Regions from separate parts of the Homo sapiens genome. Here all the other regions are linked to region 3. The links are contacts of gene promoters, found by promoter capture Hi-C in blood cells and fetal thymus (Javierre and others, 2016). All regions are on one chromosome and are shown on one strand. The core of a region is centred on a gene start or on the middle of the fragment in contact, and the rest is flanking DNA. Distances in the headings are between cores, read along the strand shown.

Evidence for each region. The method cuts DNA at HindIII sites, captures the fragments that hold promoters and counts their contacts. A CHiCAGO score of 5 or more calls a contact.
Region 1: a contact is called between a fragment that was not itself captured here and the fragment with the promoter of CTSK in region 3, in 4 of 17 cell types (erythroblasts, neutrophils, endothelial precursors and 1 more). The highest score is 6.6, in erythroblasts.
Region 2: the fragment with the promoter of RPRD2 here is called in contact with the fragment with the promoter of CTSK in region 3 in 1 of 17 cell types (neutrophils); the score reaches 5.1 in neutrophils.
Region 4: a fragment that was not itself captured here is called in contact with the fragment with the promoter of CTSK in region 3 in 1 of 17 cell types (neutrophils); the score reaches 5.3 in neutrophils.
Region 5: a fragment that was not itself captured here is called in contact with the fragment with the promoter of CTSK in region 3 in 2 of 17 cell types (neutrophils and endothelial precursors); the score reaches 5.6 in neutrophils.
Region 6: a contact is called between a fragment that was not itself captured here and the fragment with the promoter of CTSK in region 3, in 2 of 17 cell types (endothelial precursors and erythroblasts). The highest score is 5.5, in endothelial precursors.
Region 7: a contact is called between a fragment that was not itself captured here and the fragment with the promoter of CTSK in region 3, in 2 of 17 cell types (total B cells and naive B cells). The highest score is 5.3, in total B cells.

Annotation. Positions count from the first base shown.
Region 1 is chr1:150,497,384-150,500,560 of GRCh38, reverse strand. It overlaps TARS2 (threonyl-tRNA synthetase 2, mitochondrial), which reads right to left. Exons shown (of 18, transcript NM_025150.5): 10 at 2,814-3,031; 11 at 1,897-2,059; 12 at 1,527-1,664; 13 at 1,268-1,345. Among named protein-coding and RNA genes, the nearest start is that of MIR6878, 6.6 kb to the right of the region's middle. The HindIII fragment of the contact is 608 bases long and covers 1,265-1,872 here.
Region 2 is chr1:150,362,494-150,365,960 of GRCh38, reverse strand. RPRD2 (regulation of nuclear pre-mRNA domain containing 2) reads right to left here and starts at 1,814. Exons shown (of 11, transcript NM_015203.5): 1 at 1,042-1,814. The coding sequence starts at 1,246. RefSeq lists enhancers at 254-543, 1,027-1,306, 2,057-2,366, 2,527-2,596, 2,577-3,467. The HindIII fragment of the contact is 10,239 bases long and covers 1-3,371 here.
Region 3 is chr1:150,806,674-150,809,509 of GRCh38, reverse strand. It overlaps CTSK (cathepsin K), which reads left to right and starts at 1,250. Exons shown (of 8, transcript NM_000396.4): 1 at 1,250-1,296; 2 at 2,704-2,824. The coding sequence starts at 2,705. The HindIII fragment of the contact is 11,451 bases long and covers 717-2,836 here.
Region 4 is chr1:150,459,035-150,462,487 of GRCh38, reverse strand. It overlaps RPRD2 (regulation of nuclear pre-mRNA domain containing 2), which reads right to left. Exons shown (of 11, transcript NM_015203.5): 9 at 2,171-2,428. Among named protein-coding and RNA genes, the nearest start is that of TARS2, 27 kb to the left of the region's middle. The HindIII fragment of the contact is 5,293 bases long and covers 1-3,453 here.
Region 5 is chr1:150,513,910-150,517,072 of GRCh38, reverse strand. FALEC (focally amplified lncRNA regulator of ECM1) reads right to left here and starts at 1,321. Exons shown (of 6, transcript NR_186305.1): 1 at 1,011-1,321. RefSeq lists a silencer at 1,127-1,496 and enhancers at 1,587-1,736, 1,807-1,876. The HindIII fragment of the contact is 2,789 bases long and covers 360-3,148 here.
Region 6 is chr1:150,481,259-150,484,360 of GRCh38, reverse strand. No RefSeq gene overlaps it. Among named protein-coding and RNA genes, the nearest start is that of TARS2, 4.6 kb to the left of the region's middle. The HindIII fragment of the contact is 5,385 bases long and covers 1-3,102 here.
Region 7 is chr1:150,436,355-150,439,533 of GRCh38, reverse strand. The region is part of intron 2 of RPRD2 (regulation of nuclear pre-mRNA domain containing 2); the gene reads right to left. Among named protein-coding and RNA genes, the nearest start is that of TARS2, 49 kb to the left of the region's middle. The HindIII fragment of the contact is 5,634 bases long and covers 1-3,179 here.

The sequences.
Region 1 (3,177 bases), core at 319-2,818, 310 kb after region 3:
AGGCTAGGGTGCAGTGGTGTGATCTTGGCTCACTGCAACTTCCCAGGTTCAGCGATTCTCCTGCCTCAGGCTACTGAGTAGTTGGGACTACAGGTGTGTCCTAACACCTCACCCGGCCAATTTTTATATTTTTAGTAGAGATGGGGTTTCGCCACGTTGGCCAGGCTGGTCTCGAACTCCTGACCTCAAGTGATCCACCCACGTCGGCCTCCCAAAGTGCTGGGATTACAGGCGTGAGCCACCACACAGGCCTCATTTATTCATCTTCTAACTCCACCCTCAGGCCCTACTTTACTGAAAATGGTCCTTTGAAATCCAGCAGCCTTTTTACTAAATCCAGTGGACACTTTTCAGTCCTTTTTTCCCCTTGGCTTCTTTTTTTTTGAGACAGGGTCTCACTCTATCACCCAGGCTGGAGTGCAGTGGGGCGCAATCTCGGCTCACTGCAGCCTCTACCTCCTGGGACCAGGTGATCCTCCCATCTCAGCCTGCTGGGTAGCTGGGACCACAGGCACAAGCTACTGCACCCGGCTAATTTTTTTTTTTTTTTTTGGTAGACACAGGGTCTCCCTGTGTTGCCCAGATTGGTCTGCCATGTGTTTTCATCCTTATCCCCAGCCTCTGCCTACACTGTTCCCTCCTGAAACACATCTTTACTTGGCCAACACTCACCTTTCAGATTGGAAAGTGATTCCTGCAGGACACCTTTTGTAACCTCCCCGAGTAATGCTAACCCCAGCTAACGTGCTCTCTTGGTACCTACACAGCACAGATCTCGCAGCACTGATATGGCCTATTTACCTTCAGCAGCCCTCACTAGATTGCAGATGCCAAGAGGGCAGAAAGTATATTGTTTTTCTTTATATCCTACGTAAGTTTAAAAATATTTCTTTGTGGCCGGGTGCGGTGGCTCACGCCTGTAATCCCAGCACTTTGGGAGGCCAAGTGGGGTGGATTGCCTGAGGTCAGGAGTTCGAGACCAGTCTGGCCAACATGGCGAAACCCCATCTCTATTAAAAATACAAAAAAATTAGCCGGGTGTGGTGGCGTACACCTGTAATCCCAGCTACTCGGGAGGCTGAGGCAGGGGAATTGCTTGAACCAGGGAGCTGGAGGTTGCAGTGAGCTGAGATCACACCACTGCATTTTAGCCTGGGTGACAGAGTGAGACTGTCTCAAAAAAAAAAATTCTTTGTATCTATTAAATATTTACTAAAACAAAGCAAAAAATAAATAAATACAACACTAACCAGGGTCCCAAGCTTACCTTAGGTCCATAGAAGGCACCATCTCCAGAGTTGAGGTCCCAGGGTTCTCCAAATTCCTTCAGGGCCTGTTTAAGGACCTTTGAAGGAATGAGACAAGAGTGGAATACATCATCTTAGACTTCAAAAGCAACACATCCGGTCAGTCCCCAACAAATGACCCACTCACCAGATGCCTCTGAGAACCTTGATTACTGTATTCTCCACTCCTTCCCACCAGAGAGTGGTTTATCTGCCTCTATTTCTCTACCTCCTACTCACCTGTTCGGCCTGGTCCCAAAGGCAAGGGTCCCCCAGGAAGCCAGATGGCCGGGTGGACAGTGCCAGGCGGAAGGAGAAGCCAAGAACGGCATAGACGGAACGGAGGAAATCAAGACAGCTTTGGATCTCTGCTTCCAGCTAGGGGCAGGAAATAAGGGTCAGTGAGCTGTGAGCCCGCTAGAGATCAGGGATGCTGGCAGTTTGAGGAAAACAAAGGGCAAAAACAGAGAGGAAGCGGAAGCAAGCTGGGGGTAGAATGTAGCTGAATTATAGTACATACAGGGGGCAAATAAAGATCAGGGGTTTGCAGGTTCATAGGGAGAAAGAAAGGTGGTTTAGAAAAGCTTTGGTGGAGCCAGGGAAAGGCCACCTGATCTGTTGTACAGAAGATGTGAGCGTCATCCTGCTGGAAGCACCGCAGTCGGGTCAGTCCCCCCAGACCACCAGAGGCTTCGGCCCGGTGTAGAGCCCCAAAGTCAGCTAGTCGCAGGGGCAGTTCCCGCCAGGATCTGGGCCGGTGGGCGAACATCAGGCTGAGGTTGGGGTGCAGAGGGGTCAGGGCCATAGGGAGGACTAGCCCCCGAAGACTGCTCCTCCACCCAATCTGCTTGCCTACTTTCTCTGCACCATCTGCTATAACCCTCTCCAGCCTCAGCACATCCTCCCACTGAGTCCTGTCAATCCCACTCATCACAGTCTGAGCCCTGAGGTTCAAAAGTGGATTTCTCAGTAACACAATAACAGACATCGTTTACCATTTCCCTGTTCTGTGATGGTCACTGAGCTGAAGGAGGAGCCTTAGATAGCAACTTTAAGGAGACTGAGACCTAAAGAGGTAAAATGAGTTTCCCAAATTTACATGGTTAGCTAGGGGGAAGACTGTAGGCTCAAATCGGTGTCCCAATACTCTTTCCAAGGTGCTTTCTTTTTTTTTTTTTTTTTGAGATGGAGTCTCGCTGTGTCACCCAGGCTGGAGTGCAGTGGCGCGATCTCGGCTCACTGCAAGCTCCACCTCCTGGGTTCACGCCATTAGCCTGCCTCAGCCTCCTGAGTAGCTGGGACTACAGGCGCCCGCCACCGTGCCCGGCTAATTTTTTGTATTTTTAGTAGAGACAGGGTTTCTCCATGTTGGTCAGGCTGGTCTCAAACTCCCGACCTCAGGTGATCCGCCCGCCTCGGCCTCCCAAAGTGTTGGGATTACAGGCGTGAGCCACCGTGCCCGGCCCCAAGGTGCTTTCTATTATTTAATATTTAGCAACCTGATTGTAACCCTAGCTCCCAGCTTACCAGTGTGCAGGGCAGTTCATAGGCTTGAGGGCGAGTGTATCTGTGATATGCCTGGTAGAATCGTCACTCTGGGAGCTGGGAGGCCTGTCAGAGCCTGGGGGCTGCACGGCAAACATGTCTTCCTGATAATGCTCCCAGTGCCCTGACTGTTCCCAGAGCTTCGTAGAAAACAGTGTGGGAGTTTTCACCTCGGAGAAACCACGATGGGCATACTCAGCCTGGAGAGGAGGGTACAGACATGGAAGGTCAGAGTAACTGGAAGGAAAGCAGGTAGGGTGTCAGCTGTGTGATCTTCCTGGGCCCTCAGGCCATGCTGATTGCAACCACAACCTATTAAATACCAGGTCCCATCTCTATGCTCCCC
Region 2 (3,467 bases), core at 565-3,064, 440 kb after region 3:
CTGTGCACATTACCCATGAGATCAACTCAATTGTGTAAAAAGGTATTTCAGGTAATTAAAAAGTAACGGGGCCGGGCACGGGGGGCTCACGTCTGTAATCCCTGCACTTTGGGAGGCCGAGGCAGGTGGATCACCTGAGGTCGGGAGTTCGAGACCAGCCAGGCCACAATGATGAAACCCCGTCTCTACTAAAAATACAAATAATTAGCCGGACATGGTGGCGGGCGCCTGTAATCCCGACTACTCGCGAGGCTGAGACAGGAGAATCGCTTGAACCCGGGAGGTGGAGGTTGCAGTGAGCCGAGATCGCGCCACTGCACTCCAGCCTGGGCGACAAGAGCAAAACTCCGTCTCAAAAAAAAAGAGGAACTGGACACGCTTTATATTTGAAGGTATTAACGATGATACTGACTACTGTATCGCAGTTGTTTCTGGTCAGTATCCAAGAAACCTGTATTTTATTGCAGCAAACACAGGTACAGGGAAAACCCGGTGGTGCCTCAGATCTATGTAGAGCTCATGCTGCTTCTTAACATTCATCCAGGTAAGGCTCTCCTTACTACACATCACAAGTTTTAGATACATTCATCCAGACAAGGCACTCCTCATTAAACATCACTGGATTTACTACTGCTTAAAACCACAGCTCGCCTACCATCAGGAAAGCCAGAAATCATTAACACGTCAAGGCCTGTAAGAAATAAACAGACGCTACAATTTCCGCGAAGGTTCGGAAAAATCAATACACCTTACAAGGCTCTGAAATATTAAAAACAATATACGTAAATCTCCATGGATCTGGGCCCAACGGCCCAAGGTCACAACAATTCAATGGCTAAAAAACCCAAGAAATGAGTCTCCTGCAATTCAGGACAATCCTGGCTAGGAATGGAGTCTGGGTTTGGGACCACTGGGGTCAAACCTTTAATGTGAACAACCCCAACCAAATGCTGCGGCTCCGTGGGAAAACCCCAAGCGTTTCAGGCCACACTTCCTTCCATTTCCCCAGTCTTCCCTTCCCTAGTCACCCCCAACACTCACATCTCCGGAGCCACTTCATCCAATGATAGACGATAGTACTGTGGTGTTTTTTGTTCTCTATACACCAAGACGACAAGCCTTGAATGGACTCCATGGTGTTGGTTACCGACTGGAATTTTCGATCCAACGAGGACTCCAGAGCCCCTGCCGAAGAGGCCGACGAGGAGGAGGCCTTACTGCTGCCTCCGCCGCCGCCGGCCGCCATCTTCCCGGTTTGCACAAGCGCTGCTGCTCCTCTGGCGGCGGCGGCGGCGGCGGCGGCGGGAGCGGGCAAAACAATCACTGCGAGTGCGTGAAAGCCGTAGGTGGGGAGGGAAGCTAGGGGGTGGGGATGGTGCACGCGCTGGGCTCTTCTGGAGGTACGGACGGGAACACCAGCTGCTGGGCACGCTGGCAGCTCCTACACGCTGCAAGGAGGGGCTGCGGGTCTCGGAGGTTTTATCAATATTGTTCAAGGGGTCGTGTTTAAACCAGTCAGTAATCACGGAAAAATTACGCAGAAAACAGGACCTGCAAAGCCTTTCAAAACGCCTGACGCCGAAACTAATCGTTTTATACTTTTCGGCTCTCAGTGCTAAGGCCCTTCCCCGCCCCTGTTCCCACACTCCTGTGAGCCAGGTCGGGCGTTAATATCTTAAATGTAATACTACCCGACTGCCCCTTCAGTTGCAGAAATCTTTCTTTCCTTTAGACTCGCTAGCACAGAAAAGGTCCAAGGCTACCTAGTCAGGATTTTTTTTGCAACGCAATAGCAGCAAAGGGGCAGCAACAGTATCGCGCACGCGCCACTTGGCCCCACCCCCCTACCCCTGCTTCCTTCTCAACCTTGAAAGCAGAGGGAGGCGTGATGGCGGGGCAACCTGACCAATCAGGAGTGGAGAACCACAAGCGCGCGCAGGAGCTCTGAAGCCCCCAGGGCCCAGGAGGCGCTACGATTATTTTTGCGCCTGCGCAGAAGATAAGCGTGTAACGGGATGGAAGGAAAAACTGGGAGGGATGGGTGAGGGAGCTGGTATAACTAAGGTTAGCCGGGTGGGGGGGTTCCCCTGCCCCGCCCTTTGCTGCTTTTGGCCGCTCTCTTGGGTGTGTTCAGCTCACACAACAGAGACAGAAAATTCCCACCACTGAGACCACTGTTAGTCTTCAGGGGGCTGCAGCCATCGCCCCCAACTCCTCGGAGGAGCAACGCGCGACAAAATGGCTGGCAGCCATCTTGCGGCACCACAAAAGATGCGCATGCGCCAGATCCAGTGAGCCATTCACTACGCAGACTCCGACACCAAACCGTATTTATTGCTGCCCATAGAAGATAACATTCACAGCCGCTTGACCATTTAGGTTACAGGAAAAGGAAATAAATGAGGAAGTGAAAGGAAATTTTCCTCATAAAATTTTTCGAGGCGAAAAAAGAATGGCAAGATGTGACCTCATTTTCGCCAGCTATGATACAATCTTAAAATTGCATAATACATTACAGTTTTCAAGAGTCTTACGTAACTATTATATGAACCTTATACGAACCATTTTATCGCAGGTATCTATGTAAATCCTCTGAGCTAATTTAAAGGCTCCTGTGTTCCCACTAAACATATACAGTTTTAATTCTTTTAACGTCTCCTCACTGCGGCCATGCCTCTTGAGGCAGGGAACCTGTTTTGTCAAGTTCATGTCCACTATTCATTAATTCAACGAGTTGTTGAACCTCTTGTGCCAAGTACTGTTTTAGATCATGGGGAGCAAAACAGACAAAAATCCGTTCCCTCCGGGATTTAGTGGCAGGACACCACCAACAAGTACATTTCAGACAGTATTAAATTCTGTAAAAAGGTGAAGCAGGGTAAGGGAGAAAGGGGTGTGTGTGTGTGCGCGCGTGTGTGTACGTGTGCACGGCACGCACGCGCCAGTATAAGAATGGTGGTATGGTGAACCAGGAAGTCTTCTCGAAAGAAATAACTCGATCTGAACATTGAGAAAAAAGCAACCAAGCAGATATGCGAGACGGGGAGCGGAACATGCTGGCATTAGGAACAGCAAGTGCAAAGGCTCTAAAATACAGTCTCGCTCTGTCCCTGCCAAGGCTAGAGTGCAGTGGCACTATCATATCGCACAGCAGCCTCAATCCCCCAGACTCAAGTGGTCCTCCTGCCTCAGCAGCACAAGTAGCTGGGACTACAGGCCTGCACCACCACACCTAGCTAAAAAAACAAAACAACAACAACAACATTTTTTTGAGAGGGGGAGTCTCCCTATGTTGCCCAGGCTGGTCTCAAACTCCTAGCCTCAAGCAGTCCTCCTGCTTTCAGCCTCCCGAAGTGCTGGGATTATAAGCTTGAGCCGCCATGCCTGGTCCTGACCCCACATTTTTTTTTTTTCTGTAACTCTAGCCAAAGACCCACTTTTTTATAGACTATTTTTAGAGCAGTTTT
Region 3 (2,836 bases), core at 1-2,500:
AGCTTCCCAAGTAGCTGGCACTACAGGTGTGTGCCACCATGCCCAGCTAATTTTTGTGTTTTTTTTTTTTAGTAGAGATGGGGTTTCACTATATGTTGGCCAGGCTAGTCTCGAACTCCTGACCTTAGGTGATCCACATGCTTTGGCCTCCCAAAGGCCTGGGATTACAGGCGTGAACCACTGCGCCTAGCCTGTTAGCAGCTCTTAAAATCCAGAGGCATAAGCCTGTATTTTTGAGGGTTTATGCATGGAATCCAGCTAGAAACTGAGTCTATTACAGATCCCATTTATTATCCTTTCTATTCCAAGAAGCCTTTTTTTCTCCTTCCCCACATCTGTTTATGGAAGAAAATGAAGTTTGGGGTGTGGTTTGAGGAATCAGCTAGATTCTTATGATCTGTCACATGCTTGGATGTTGGGGAAGCATTTGGAGAAGCTCATGTGACTTGTCCTAGATTGGGGATTTTAATTGAGACAGATGATGTTTATCGGGCATCCCACCACCTGAGAGTTTTAGCAACAGAGTCACATGTGAGTCCATCAGAACTTACGGCATTGATTCAAGTGCTGTCATAAATAACCAGGACTGCTGTTTTTGGTTACTTTTAAAGACAGTTTCATCTGGACTTTCTGGGCATATCCTCCTTCAGCAAAACCACATTAGGCTGGGAAAACTATTCTGCCTGGAAGTAATGACAACTTGCAACCAACAAGCTTATAAAAATACAAAGAATTCTGGAGCCTATGGCTTCCATTACATTATTCTTTTATAGCCTTTTATGTTCATTACCGCATCCCAGAGGTGAGAGTCAGACACAAATATGAAAATAGGTTTCAATGTTGGAGAGGTAAATCCTAACAGGAAAGGGGTAGGAAAAGATATAATCCCCCAATATTAAAATAAAGATATTGAAGAAGAAGGATGGGAGAGACTAGGGCTGTGTCCTTCCTTTTACTCACCAAAAGAGAAAGTAAGCTCCTATTTGAGTCAATAGATATTGAGGTCTTGTTATTTGCCACCAAAGACAGTCTTGTGAGACTAAATAGCTAGTAATTCCCTACCCTGGCACACATGCTGCATACACACAGAAACACTGCAAATCCACTGCCTCCTTCCCTCCTCCCTACCCTTCCTTCTCTCAGCATTTCTATCCCCGCCTCCTCCTCTTACCCAAATTTTCCAGCCGATCACTGGAGCTGACTTCCGCAATCCCGATGGAATAAATCTAGCACCCCTGATGGTGTGCCCACACTTTGCTGCCGAAACGAAGCCAGACAACAGATTTCCATCAGCAGGTAACGTTTGCAACTTCCTAGATCTTTTAGCTTTTCATTCCTGTCAATTCTCTGAGTATTAGGGATGTAGTGACTTGAGGATCACAATAAACTTTTAGCCTCTGCAGATGAAAACAGAGATGCACTTCTTAGGTCATTCCCTGGCTAAATAAAATCTGCCTGGAAATCTGTAGAATTCCTTGTATGATTTATATATATACATACATGATTGTTAGTAAAAGCAAAGTATATAGGGAATCATTTCCCCATCCTTCAAGAGTGGCCTTTCTGCAGTGTTTTCTACTTTGGCCAACAAGGATCAAAACGGTTAACTCCTTAGTGAGGAGGAGGAGAGTGGTATGGGGAGGTAGTAGCTCAGTGCTTCCTGTTCACTGAGACATCTCAAAGCCCTTAACACTCTAGTTTTTAAATGTCCTACTGGACATTTTGCCAGTTTGCAAAATTACATGTAAATGGACTATAAGCAATTGTGTAAGCCATATGTCATGCTGCAGGCTGCAAATTGTTCTTAAAATGGAGGATTTGTAATTAAGAAAGCCAATGCAAGAAATGAGTGAAGCTAACTAGAGTAAACTTATGAAAAGCTGTGAATTTCATCATCATAGAACATTGCTTTTCAGTCTGAACATTCTTCTAACAAACCTTGGATCTGAGGCTTCTTGTCCTTTGCGGCAGCCACAGTGGGTTTTTGTTGTTAGGGGAAAAATAAAAAACCTTGCCCGCAGCATCTGGTTAAGATTAGGGCAGTTTCCTGCCTAAGGAGGGAAGGGAGAGAAAAAGGAAGAAGAAATGCATAAGGAGAATGAGGAGATATACAATGTCTCAGAAAACAGGAAACATTGTCCTATTTTCCCTTGTCCTCTTCTGACAAGATCTGGGAAAGTACCAGAATTTAGGCACGAAAGAGAAGAACGCCTCGAAGAAATGATCAGGAGGCAAAACTTAGACGGAAATCTCTCCTTTGTGTATTCTGAACCCCACTACCACCTTGCTATTTGTCTGTCTCCAAGCCTGCTAGGGACCCTGGAGGAAACGCACTGAGCCCATTCTGATTGTCCAGTTTCTATCCCCCATTTCTGGTTGTGTACGTGTGTGTGTGTGTGTGTGTGTGTGTGTGTGTGTGTGTGTGTGTGAGAGAGAGAGAGACAGAGAGAGAAACAGAGAGAGTGTGTGTTGCCTAAATCTCCCGAGAGAGAGAGAGAGAGAGAAAGAGAGAAATGGCTAAATCCCCCTAGATCAAAGTCCTTGGAACCAGATGTACCAGCATCCTATCTAAACACAGGCCCCTCCTGACTATCATTGTTTTATCACCCTTTTTCCGTCTACCTTTCTCTTCCTCATAAAGCCTAGTTTTCCTCTGTTTCCCTGCCAAATGGAAGAGTTTTCCCTAACTACATTCTTCTGCAGGATGTGGGGGCTCAAGGTTCTGCTGCTACCTGTGGTGAGCTTTGCTCTGTACCCTGAGGAGATACTGGACACCCACTGGGAGCTATGGAAGAAGACCCACAGGAAGCAATATAACAACAAGGTGCCTGGGGTC
Region 4 (3,453 bases), core at 466-2,965, 350 kb after region 3:
TTTATAATTTACAGGTTTTTTTTTTGTTTTTTGTTTTTTTTTGAGACAAGAGTCTCGCTCTGTCAACCAGGCTGGAGTGCAGTGGCTTGATCCTGGATCACTGCAACCTCTGCCTTCTGGGTTCAAATGATACTTATGCCTCAGCCTTATGAGTAGCTGGGATTACAGGTACGTGCCACCACAGCTGGCGAATTTTTTCTTTTTTTGAGACGGAGTCTTGCTCTGTTGCCCAGGCTGAAGTGCAGTGGCGTGATCTTGGCTCACTGCAACCCCCGCCTCCCAGGTTCAAGTGATTGTCCTGCCTCAGCCTCCCAAGTAGCTGGGACTACAGATGCATGCCACCATGCCCAGCTAATTTTTGTATTTTTAGTAGACAGGGTTTCACCAAGTTGGCCAGGCTGGTCTTGAACTCCTGACTTCAGGTGATCCGCCTGCCTTGGCCTCCCAAAGTGCTGGAAATACAGGCGTGAGCCACCAAACCTGGCCTAATTTTTGTTTTTTGTTTTTTTTTGAGACGGAGTATTGCTCTGTCGCCCAGGCTGTGCAGTGGCGCGATCCTGGCTCACTGCAAGCTCCGCCTCCTGGGTTCAGGCCATTCTCCTGCCTTAGCCTCCCGAGCAGCTGGGACTACAGGCGCCCGCCACCATGCCTGGCTATTTTTTTGTATTTTTAGTAGAGACGGGGTTTTACCATGTTGGCCAGGATGGTCTCGATCTCTTGACCTCGTGATCCACCCGCCTCGGCCTCCCAAAGTGCTGGGATTACAGGTGTGAGCCACCACGCTCGGCCATAATTTTTGTTTTTTTAAGTAGAGATGGGGTTTCGCCATGTTGTCCAGGTTTGTCTCCAACTCCTGGCCTCAAGTGATCAACCTGCCTCCACCTCCCAAAGTGGTGGCGTGAGCCACCACACCTGGCCCTATAGTATTCTTCATAACAGTAAAAAACTGGAAACATACTAAGTGCCTAATAATAAAGGATTAGATAAGTTACCACATGCTATGCAGCTATTAAAAATGATGTAGAGAAATATTTAATGATTCATAAAAACATTCAAGATATGTAATTAACTTTTAAATAGCTAGTTTTGAAACAGTATATGCAATACACTTACTTTTTTAAAAATTGTTATACATATTTAATTCTCCAAAACATTCATATACACATATACTTTTAAGGGTAAACACAAGTGGTTTCCTTTGGGGTAACAGGATTATAGATATTTATTAAAAAATTTTTTTCATTTAAAATTTTTTATTTAGAGATAGGGTCTCACTATATTGCCAAGGCTGGTCTCGAACTCCTGGCCTCAGGCAATCTACCATCTCAGCCTCCCAAAGTGCTGGGATTACAGGCATGAGCCACCACGCCTGGCCTAGATATTTATTTCATTCTCTTTGCTTATTTTCTAATTTTTCTATAATGACCGATTATTGGATTATTTTTTAATTTAACAATTAATTTAGCTGGGTGCGCTGGCTCACGCCTGTAATCCCAGCACTTTGGGAGGCCAAGATGGGTGGATCACCTGAGGTCAGGAGTTTGAGACCAGCCTGACCAACATGGTGAAACCCCGTCTCTACCAAAAATACAAAATTAGCTGGGCATGGTGGCACATGCCTGTAGTCCCAGCTATTTGGGAGGCTAAGGCAGAATTGCTTGAACCTGGGAGATGGAGGCTGCAGTGAGTGAAGTTTGCACCATTGCACTCCAGCCTAGGTAACATGACTGAAACTCCGTCTCAGAAAAAAAAAAAAAAATCATTAATTAAAAAAAATCAACAACAGACTGGGCACGGTGACTCACGCCTATAATCCCAGCACTTTGGGAGGCCGAGGTGGGTGTATCACCTGAGGTCAGAAGTTCAAGACCAGCCTGGCCAACATGGTGAAACCCCATCTCTACTAAAAATACAAAAATTAGCCGGGCGTGGTAGCAGGTGCCTGTAATCCCAGCTACTTGGGAGGCTGAAGCAGCAGAACACTTGAACCCGGGAGGCAGAGGTTGCAGTGAGCCAAGATTGCACCACTGCACTCCTGCCTGGGAGACAGAGCGAAACTCTGTCTAAACAACAACAACAACAACAACAACAACCCCCCCAAAAACAGATTAATGATTCAATTTAAAAAGATGGAAATTAACTTTTTATCCTCCTTACTGGGCTTACTTACCAGTATTTTTCATGACTGATGTTAAACTGCTAAGGATGGAACTGATCTTTGCCAGATCCACATTAGCCAGGTTTGGCAAAGCCAATGCTGGGGAAGGGGAAAGAGAAGTATTCACAGGCTTTGGAAGAGGTGGAGTTGCTGTCATGGTCACAGGCACTGGGGTACATGAAGAGGCCTTTGAGATATTTTCTGTTGGCTTTGTAGGTACAGAAGTGGATACAGCTGACTTCTCTGCAGGTTTTTCCTTCCTGTCCTCGACTGTTTCAACAAAGAAAAGAGATATTACATCCTACTACTTTCCAGACTTTGCTTCCTATATGAAATAACATGTCCTAATATTTCCGGACTTGGGGGAAAAGGCACTACTTTAGAGAAAACAACGACTCACTTCATGCTTTTTTGAAAAAGTCATACTCTTCATAATTTATGATAATTCCCACCTTTAATATCTGCTTAAAAGCAATTTCCAGCTGGGGACAATGGCTCATGTGAGGTCAGGATTTCGAGACCAGCCTGGTCAACATGGTGAAATCCTGCCTCCACAAAAAATACAAAAAATTAGCTAGGTGTGGTGGCAGGCGTCTATAATCCCAGCTACTACAGAGGCTGAGACACGAGAATCGCTTGAACCCAGGAGGCAGAGGTTGCAATGAGCCGAGATTGTGCCACTGCATTCCAGCCTGGGCAACAAAGCGAGACTCCCGTCTCAAAAAAAAAAAAAAAAGCAAGCAATTTCCAGAATTTATCTTGTATCTTACTTTTCAATGATTCCTTTGCATTTTCTTAGTATTTGTGTATTAAATCTGTACAATTCAAGAAGCATGTTATTATTTGGTACACATTTGTGTTCTGTCTTTTGGAAATGATATTTTTCATAAATTGTCCTGTGTTTTTCTTTTCCATTAACCTGAGAACTTTCTAAGAACTTCTGTTCTTAGAAACAGAACCTCTATAGTGTTCATTGTATTTTCCTCTGGCTTCCTGAAATTGCCCTATTGGGGGGTGCAATCAGGCACTAGCTAATTTGAAACTACAATGTTTTAACTCTCAATCACCTTGAATAATTATTTTTAATGCTTTAAGGGCTGTATCAATAGTGCATTGAATTCAACAGGAGTCAAACTATCTAATAAGATTTATGAAGGCTGGGGATATAAGAGAAACAATTCACCAAATCAGGTTATTTCTGAAAGTGTGATTAACAAACTGACTTTGGAATTCTTGATGGTCAAAAGTGACAGAGAATAAGGAATTCCAGTATAAGTGACCCCTCATCCCAAAAC
Region 5 (3,163 bases), core at 505-3,004, 290 kb after region 3:
CTGGCCTCGACCTCCCAAAGTGCTGGGATTACAGGTGTGAGCCACCGCGCCTGGCTAGGTATATTTAAATATACCACACTTTCTGTGTTATTTCCTCTTCCTGGAAGATCTCCCTGAAGGCCAGGCTAGGTGGCTGTCTCAGAATTCTGAGAATATTTCTAACATTAGATGTTCAAGTCTCCACAGACGCTAAAGTCCCTGAAGGTGGTGTTGTAGTCTTCGTTATAGCCAGAGTACTTTTAGCACTCTGCCTAACACAAAAAGGACTGTTTACTTTAGCTGAACTTTGCATACATTCAATGCTTTGTATATCCTTCCCTTTCAACAAAACCCTACTCAAGCTTGAATTCTGTGAAGCTTTCCCTGGCCTCTCCAATAATTAGGAGCTCTGACTCCTTTACTTTACTCACCGCCCCTGAATTGAGCAAGTTATATTTTAATAGTGTATACAACGAATTGCAGTGAATGTTAACACGTTCACCTTTTATTGCTAACAGCAATGCTACCCGTGCTTCCAGGCTCTATCCAAACTCACTGCTTCCAGATAATAGCTGGCTGGTCCCTAGGGAGAATTCTTTAACTCTCAGCATTTGATGCTCAATTCAGTACCTCCTCATATTCAGCACTGTAGCTTACAAGTGCTCTCCGGGTTCCCTTCCTCTCCTCCCCGACAGACTAAACTGCTAGGGTTTGGGACCGCAGTCCTCCTCTCCTCTGACTCCCACCTCTCTGCAGCATTTGGCGCTGCACTTTGCAAACGCAGCTCTAAAGCATCTCCGGGAAGCTCCTGCACAGACCAAAGCCCCCCCGCTCCCTTTTTTTTTTTGAGACAGAGTCTCCTCTCTCGCCCAGGCTGGAGTGCGGTGGCGCGATCTTACTGCAGCCTCCGCCTCCCGGGTTCAAGCAATTCTCTGCCTCAGCCTCCCGAGTAGCTGGGATTATAGGCGCCCGCCACCACGCCCTGCTAATTTTTTTTTTTTTTTGTATTTTTAGTACAGACGGGGTTTCACCTTCTTGGCCAGGCTGGTCTTGAACTCCTGACCTCGTGATCCACCGCCTCGGCCTCCCAAAGTGCTGGGATTCCAGGCATGAGCCACCGCGCCCGGCCCAAAGCCCTTTAAAGACAAGTCTCCGCTTGCGGATTCGCCCGCCAGGTGACAAGGCTTCGTGGGCCAGGACTCCGCCCGCTCCCCGTGGGCTGGGGCGACCCAGGCCAGGAGGGTACACGTGGGACCGGGGGGTAGGGGAATTGCTGGGCCGGCCTTTTCCCCCTGCCTCCCCCGGTTCCTCTGTCCTGGAGGCCGTAGGAGATGCGCAGGACGCCCGCACATGCGCAGTGTCACTCTCGAGCTCCAGACTCGAGCGCGGCGGGCAGGAGGCCCAGGCGGCCCCGGGCTCCCGAGACTGGGCTGCCGGCTCAGGGGCGGGGCACAGCGCTGCCCTCGCCCGCTCATTGGCTCGCGTGCTGACGGACAGGTGGGGCGGACAGCCGGCGAAAGATCTGAGGAGCCGCTGGACTGGAAACTGCTACTGGGCTAAAAATACTTAAGTAAATAAATGAAAGCCTGTGGAGGAGGAGAGGAAGGAGAGGCGGGCGTGGGTTTGGGAGCAACTGAGGCTCCGCTTGCCCCTGGCTGGCGCAGGATGATGGTTCTTGGTTCACTCTCTCCGTCTCCGCTAGAACTGGAGCGGAGAAGTCTGCTTTCTGGAAGGTCGTCCTGGCGGCGGAGTCACACAGGACTTGTTCCCCTGGGACTCTTCATTCCGAGTCTTCATTCCGATTCTTTCAGATCCAGCCTTGAGGCCTCGGGTTCCTGGGAGCAGCTTTGTAGGGCTTGAGAGTCCTAGTCACCGCCACCCTCGGGTCCAGCTCAGGTTGGGGGCTACAGCTCCGTCCCTCCGGCACTTGGGACGACACTCTTTGAACTGGCCTCCCAGCGTCCCGCCTTGCTGGCTGCCGACTAAACTTTTTTTTTTCTTTTTGAGACTGGGTCTCGCAGGTTGAAGTGCAGTGCCGAGACCATAGCTCTTTGGGTGGCTGGGATTACAGGCGCGCGCCACCTCCCCGGCTCTCCGACTAGACATTATTTTATTTTATTTTATTTTTGAGGCACAGTCTCGCTGTGTCGGCCAGGCTGAGTGCAGTGGTGCGATACTGGCTCACTGCAACCTCCACCTCCCAGGTTCAAGTGATTCTCGTGCCTCAGCCTCCCGAGTAGTTTGGATTATAGGTGGGCACCACCACGCCTGGCTAATTCAGTAAAGATGGGGTTTCACCATGTTGGTCGGGCTGATCTCGAACTCCTAACCTCAAGTGATCCGCCCGCCTCGGCCTTCCAAAATGCTGGGATTACAGCGTGAGCCAGTGCGTCCGGCCTAGACATTCTTAAAAGGCAAATTGGAACACATCCTCCGCTTGAAAACGCCAGTGCCCCCTGGGCCAGGGCACCAAGATCCACTTAAAACCCTGCGGGTGAGGCATTAGTGATGAGCTCCTGCTTATCATTCCAGCCATATCAGAGAGGAAGGCCACCAAAGAGTCAGGTCCTTTCAGCCTTGACCCTTGTGCGCACTCTGCCCGCTCACACCCTCTACTTCTTTACTGGAGAAACTCTGACCTCAACGCCCCTCCTGTGCACCTGTGCTGCCCCCAGCCCCACTCCCACCTCGGGACGTTCCTGTCATGCTCAGAGCACGCTGGGGGCCCTGTACCACAACACTTGTCACACCTGCTAGGCTCAGGGACAGTGAACAACCTCAGGGCAGGGGCTGTGTGTGTTCTGGATGTGTATCCCCAAGTCTAGCAGAGTGTGCATAGATAGGGGTTCAATAAATGGATATTGGCCAGGCACAGTGGCTCACGCCTGTAATCCCAGCACTTTGGGAGCCTGGCCAACATGGTGAAAACCCGTCTCTACTAAAAATACAAAAATTAGCTGGGTGTGCTGGTGCACGCCTGTAATCCCAGCTACTCGGGAGGCTGAGGCAGGAGAATCGCTTGAACCCAGGAGGGTTGCAAGTTGCAGTGAGCCAAGATCGTGCCACTGCACTTCAGCCTGGGCGATAGAGCGAGACTGTGTCTCAAGAAAAAAAAAAAAAGGATATTGAATGAATGAAGGCATGAATTCTAAGGATCAAAAGTGAAGCTTTAAAAATGTTAGGC
Region 6 (3,102 bases), core at 246-2,745, 330 kb after region 3:
TACGCCACCACACCCAGCTAATTTTTTTTGAGTCAGAGTCTTGCTCTGTCGCCGAGGCTGGAGTGCAGTGGCGCTATCTTGGCTCACTGCAACCTCTGCCTCCCGGGTTCAAGTGATTCTTCTGCCTCAGCCTCCTGAGTAGCTGGGATTACAGGTGCGCGCCACCACGCTCGGCTAATTTTTGTATTTTTAGTAGAGACAGGGTTTCACCATGTCAGGCTGGTCTCGAACTCCTGACCTCGTGATCCGACCACCTTGGCCTCCCAAAGTGCTGAGATTACAGGCGTGAGCCACTGTGCCCGGCCTGTTTTTTGTTTTTTGAGATGGAGTTTCACTCTTGTTGCTCAGGCTGGAGTGCAATGGCACGATCTTGGCTCACTGCAACCTCCGACTCCCAGATTCAATCGATTCTCCTGCCTCAGCCTCCCGAGTAGCTGGGATTACAGGTGCCCGCCACCACACCTGGCTATTTTTTTGTATTTTTAGTAGAGATGGGGTTTCACAATGTTGGCCAGGCTGGTCTTGAACTCCTGACCTCAGGTGATCCACCTGCCTTGGCCTCCCAAAGTGCTGCGTTTACAGGCGTGAGCCACCATGCCTGGCTTGAAACATCTATTCTTAAAACTTGGGCTGTTGCCCCTCCACCCTAGACTACTACTGAACACCCGGTGCTATGCCTTCACTATTTCACCTAATTCCTAAAACAACTATGTCAAGTATACTCCCTTTAAAACAGGAAAATGATTCTCAAAGAAGTAAAGCCCCCAGTCTATCTGAATGCAAAGCCCTTGTTGTTTATGCTATGCCATACTGCCTCTCAGGGACCAGATTGGTCATAATGTGTCAGGTTATAAGATTCTGATACTTGTGGCCAAATAGGCCTTTGATATAGGGTAAAAGAGGTGGGTCCAATAGAAAGCCAAGAAAAGAGGCGTCTTCCGACTTTTCTCTACCAGATTAAGGTTAAGGAAAAAAGTGTGCACAAAATAAAGCTAGATTTCCACAGAAGTGCAGGAAAAAGGGAATCCACAGTGAAGGGTGTCCTAGGCCCTTAGTAAAATTTTAGGAAATTCTCAGCTTAACTCCACTTTTGGAATAGAAATTCCAAGGTGACTAGAGTCCTAGTTCAGAAGGTATTGTTTTTATAGCTTTAAACTACATGTAACTTTAAACTACATGTAAATATTTTCCACTTGTCCTCAGGATCAGCACATACCTCCAAATCTATCTTACTTCTTAGAAGCACTAAAGATGTAGAAAGTATATTTGGCTGGGTGTGGTGGCTCACGCCTGTAATCCCAACACTGGAGGCTGAGGCAGGCGGATTGCTTGAGTCCAGGAGTTCGACAACAGCCTGGACAACATAGTGAGACCCCCATCTCTACAAAAAATAAAAAATTAGCTGGGCATGGTGGTATGTGCCTTGGGAGGCTAAGGTGGGAAGATTGCTTGAGCCCAGGAGATCCAGTGCAGTGAGGCGTGATTGCACCACTGTACTGCAACCTGGGCAACAGAATGATACCCTGTCTCAAAAAAAAAAAAAAAAAAAAAAAAAAAAGAGAAGGCAGAGGCCGGGCACAGTGGCTCATGCCTGTAATCCCAGCACTTTGGGAGGCCGAGGCGGGTGGATCACGAGGTCAGGAGATCGAGACCACCCTGGCTAACATGGTGAAACCCCGTCTCTACTAAAAATACAAAAAATTAGCCGGGCGTGGCAGCGTGCGCCTGTAGTCCCACCTACTCGGGAGCTGAGGCAGGAGAATGGCGTGAACCCGGGAGGCGGAGCTTGCAGTGAGCCGAGATCGCACCACTGCACTCCAGCCTGGGCAACACAGCAAGACTCCGTCTCAAAAAAAAAAAAAAAAAAAAAAGAGAAGGCTGGATGCAGTGGCTCACGCCTGTAATCTCAGCATTTGGGAGGCTGAGGCAGGTGGATCTGAGGTCAGGAGTTTGAGATCAGCGTGGCCAACATAGTGAAAGCCCGTCTTTACTAAAAATACAAAAATTAGCCAGGCGCGGTGGCTCACGCCTGTAATCCCAGCACTTTGGAAGGCTGAGGCGGGCAGATCACCTGAGGTCGGGAGTTCGAGACCAGCCTGACCAACATGGAGACACCCCGTCTCTACCAAAAATACACAATTAGCCAGGTGTGGTGGCACATGCCTGTAATCCCAGCTACTTGGGAGGCTGAGGCAGGAGAATGGCGTGAACCCGGGAGGCGGAGCTTGCAGTGAGCCGAGATTGCGCCACCGCACTCCAGCCTGGGTGACAGAGAGAGACTCTGTCTCAAAAAAAAAAAAAAAAAAAAAAAAAAAAAAGCCTGGCGTGGTGGCGCATGCCTGTAGTCCTAGCTACTTGGGAGGCTGAGGTGGGAGAATCACTTGAACCCCAGAGGCAGAGATTGCAGTGAGCCGAGATCGTGTCACTGCACTCCAGCCTGGGCAACCAAACAAGAATCCGTCTCAAAGGAAAAAAAAAAGATATTAGAGGTTAAAAAAAAAGGAATAAGGTAAAATATATAAAGAAAGGATTATGAGGCCGGGTGTGGTGGCTCATACCCGTAATCCCAGCACTTTGGGAGGGTGAGGTGAGCAGATCACTTGAGGTCAGGAGTTCAAGACCAGCCTGGCCAACATGGTGAAACCCATCTCTACTAAAAACACAAAAAATTAGTTGGGCATGGTGGTGCACGCTTGTAGTCCCAGCTATTCGGGAGGCTGAGGCGGGAGAATCGCTTGAACCTGGGAGGTGGAGGTTGCAAGGAATTAAGATCATGCCACTGCACTCCAACCTGGGAGACAGAACAAGACTCCGTCTCAAAAAAAAAAAAAAAAAAAGAAAAAAAAAAAGAAAGAAAAGAAAGGATTATGTCATTGCTAACAAAAACCTTTGGGGCCCAGAGAAGTAGCCAAGTGGCTAAAGGCACAAGTGGTAGGGAAGTTAGGTTTATTTTTTAAAAAATAATTCCCTAGTAATGTAAGTGGAAGATCTGGGATGGGGCCAATCTTTAACTTTGCTTTAAAATGCCATCATAGGCTGGGCATGGTGCCCCACACCTATAATCCCAGCACTTTGGGAAGCCAAGGCAGAGGACCGTTTGAA
Region 7 (3,179 bases), core at 86-2,585, 370 kb after region 3:
CTTATGTAAGAAACAGAGAAAATTGTATTAAACCTTACAATTTTCTTTTTTTTTGAGACAGGGTCTCACTCAGTTGTCGAGGCTGAACTATGGTGGCATGATCTTGGCTCACTGCAGCCGCAGCCTCAGCCTCCTGGGCTCAAGCGATCCACCTGCGTGTGACATGCTTTATTGCAATATTTGCTTTATTGTGGTGGTTTGGAACTGAAATCTCAATATCTCTAAGGTATGCCTGACTATGTGTGTGACTGGTTTCAAATACAATACTAACATTTATAGAAGAAAAAGACTGTAAGATAGTAATGCTGAAATTGTTATCTTGTAAATCTCCATTTGGTGAAAGTGAGTGGATTTTTCTTTATACTTTTCACAATTTTCTGTGTTCTATAATGTTTAGATACGGCCGGGTGTGGTGGCTCATGCCTGTAATCGCAGCACTTTGGGAGGCCGAGGGAGGCGGATCACAAGGTCAAGAGATCGAGACCATCCTGGCCAACATGGTGAAACCCCGTCTCTACTAAAAATACAAAAATTAGCTGGGTGCGGTGGCACATGCCTGTAATCCCAGCTACTCGGGACGCTGAGGCAGGAGAATTGCTTGAACCAAGGAGTCGAAGGTTGCAGTGAGCTGAGATTGCGCCATTGCACTCCAGCCTGGAGACAGAGTGAGACTCCGTTTAAAAAAAAAAAAGTTTAGATATGTACTTACCATTGTTACAGCTGCCTATAGTATTCAATACAGTGACATGCAGTGCAGGTTTACAGCCAAAGAGCAATAGGCTACACAACATAGCTTCGGTTTTTAGTAGGCTATGCCATCTACGTTTATTTAAGTACACTCTAGGATGTTCAAAGGATAAAATTCCCTAATGACACATTTTTCAGAACATACTCTTTTTTTTTTGAAGACAGAGTCTTGCTCTGTCACCCAGGCTGGAGTGCAATGGTGCGATCTCGGCTCACTGCAACTTCCGCCTCCTGGGTTCAAACGATTTTCCTGCCTCCGCCTCCGGGGTAGCTGGGATTATAGGCGCCTGCCACCACGCCCAGCTAATTTTGTATTTTTTTTTAGTAGGGACGGGGTTTCACCATGTTGGTTAGGCTGGTCTTGAACTCCCGACCTCAAGTGATCTGCCCGCCTTGGCCTCCCAAAGTGCTGGGATTACAGGTGTGAGCCACCGCACCTGGCCTCAGAACATATTCTTGATGTTAAGCAACGCATGACTTTTTTTCTTTTCTTTTCTTGAGATGAGTCTTGCTCTGTCGCCCAGGCCGGAGTGCAGTGGCACCACCTCCGCTCACTGCAACCTCCGCCTCCCAAGTTCAAGCGATTCTTCTGCCTCAGCTTCCCAAGTGGCTGGGACTACAGGCCAGTGACACCATGCCCGGCTAATTTTTGTATATATATTTTTTTAGTTGAGATGGGGTTTCACCGTATTGGCCAGGCTGGTCTCAAACTCCTGACCTCATGATCTGCCTGCCTCGGCCTCCCAAAGTGCTGGGGTTACAGGCGTGAGCCACGGTTCCTGGCTCAACTTTTTTTTTTTTTTTTTTTTAAATAATGACAGAAAGAATCTCAGCATAAAAAATATAAGAAGTGACAACAGAGTCTGTTCTTTCTGGTTAATAAACCTCTAGAAAATTGTAAAGTTTAGGCTGGGCACGGTGGCTCACGCCTGCAGTTCTAGCACTTTGGAAGGCTGAAGCTGGCGGATCACCTGAGCCCAGGAGTTTGAGACCAGCCTGGGCAACGTGGCGAAACCCCATCTCTGCAAAAAATACAAAAACTTGCCAGATGTGGTGGGGCACACCTGTAGTCCCAGCCACTTGGAGGGCTGAGGTGGGGGAATCGGTTGAGACCAGGGGTTCGAGTCTGCAGTGAGCCCTGACAACACCACTGCACTCCAGCTTGAGTGACAGAGTAAGACTCTGTCTCTAAAAACAAACCAATAAATTTTTAAAAAGTTACATTTACACTATACTATAGTCAATTAAGTGTGCAATAGCATTATGTATTAAAAACAATATCCATATGTTAGTTAAAAAAATACTTTATAGCTAAAAAACTCTTAACAATCATCTGAGTCTCCAGCAAATCATATTCTTTTTGCTGGTGGAGGGTCTTGCCTTGATGATGACTGATCATGGTAGCTGGGACTGCAGGCATGCACCACCACACCCAGCTAATATTTGTATTTTTAGTAGAGACAAGGTTTCACCATGTTGGCCAGGATGGTCTCGATCTCTTGACCTCGTGATCTGCCTGCCTTGGCCTCCAAAGTGTTGGGATTACAGGTGTTAAAAGCCACCATGCCTGGCCTTAATGTTGATATTTTGACCTCTCCCTATGAATCACAAATGTTCTTCATGCCATCTAGAATGGTGAATCCTTTCCAGAAGGTTTTCAATTTCCTTTGCCCAGATCCATAAAAGGAATCATTATTAGCGGCAACTATAGCCTTACAAAATGTCTTTCTTTCTTTTTTTAATAATAGAGACTACGTCTCGCAATGTTGCCCAGGCTGATCTCAAACTCCTGAGCTCTAGAGATCTTCCCATCTCGGACTTCCAAAGTGCTGGGATAACAGGCGTGTGCCACCGTGCCCAGCCTGTATTTTTTCTTTTTATTTGAGACGGAGTTTTGCTCGTTGCCCAGGCTGGAGTGCAATGGCGCGATCTCAGCTCACTGCGACCTCTGCCTCCTGGGTTCAAGCAATTGTCCTGCCTCGGCTTCCTGAGTGGCTGGTATTACAGGCGTGTGCCACCATGCCTGGCTAATTTTTATTTTTAGTAGAGACGGGGTTTCACCATGTTGGCCAGGCTGGTCTTGAACTCCTGACCTCAAGTGATCCATCCACTAGCCTTGGCCTCCCAAAGTGCTGGGATTACAGGTGTGAGCCACCATGCCCAGCCCTGTATTTCTTTTTTTTTAATTGAGACGGAGTCTTGCTCTGTTGCCCAGGCTGGAGTGCAGTGGCGATCTTGGCTCACTGCAAGCTCCACCTCCAGGGTTCACCCCATTCTCCTGCCTCAGCCTCCGGAGTAGCTGGGACTACAGACGCCTGCCACCACGCCCAGCTAATTTTTTGTATTTTTAGTAGAGACGGGGTTTCACGGTGTTAGCCAGGATGGTCTCGATCTCCCGACCTCGTGATCTGCCTGCCTCGGCCTCCCAAAGT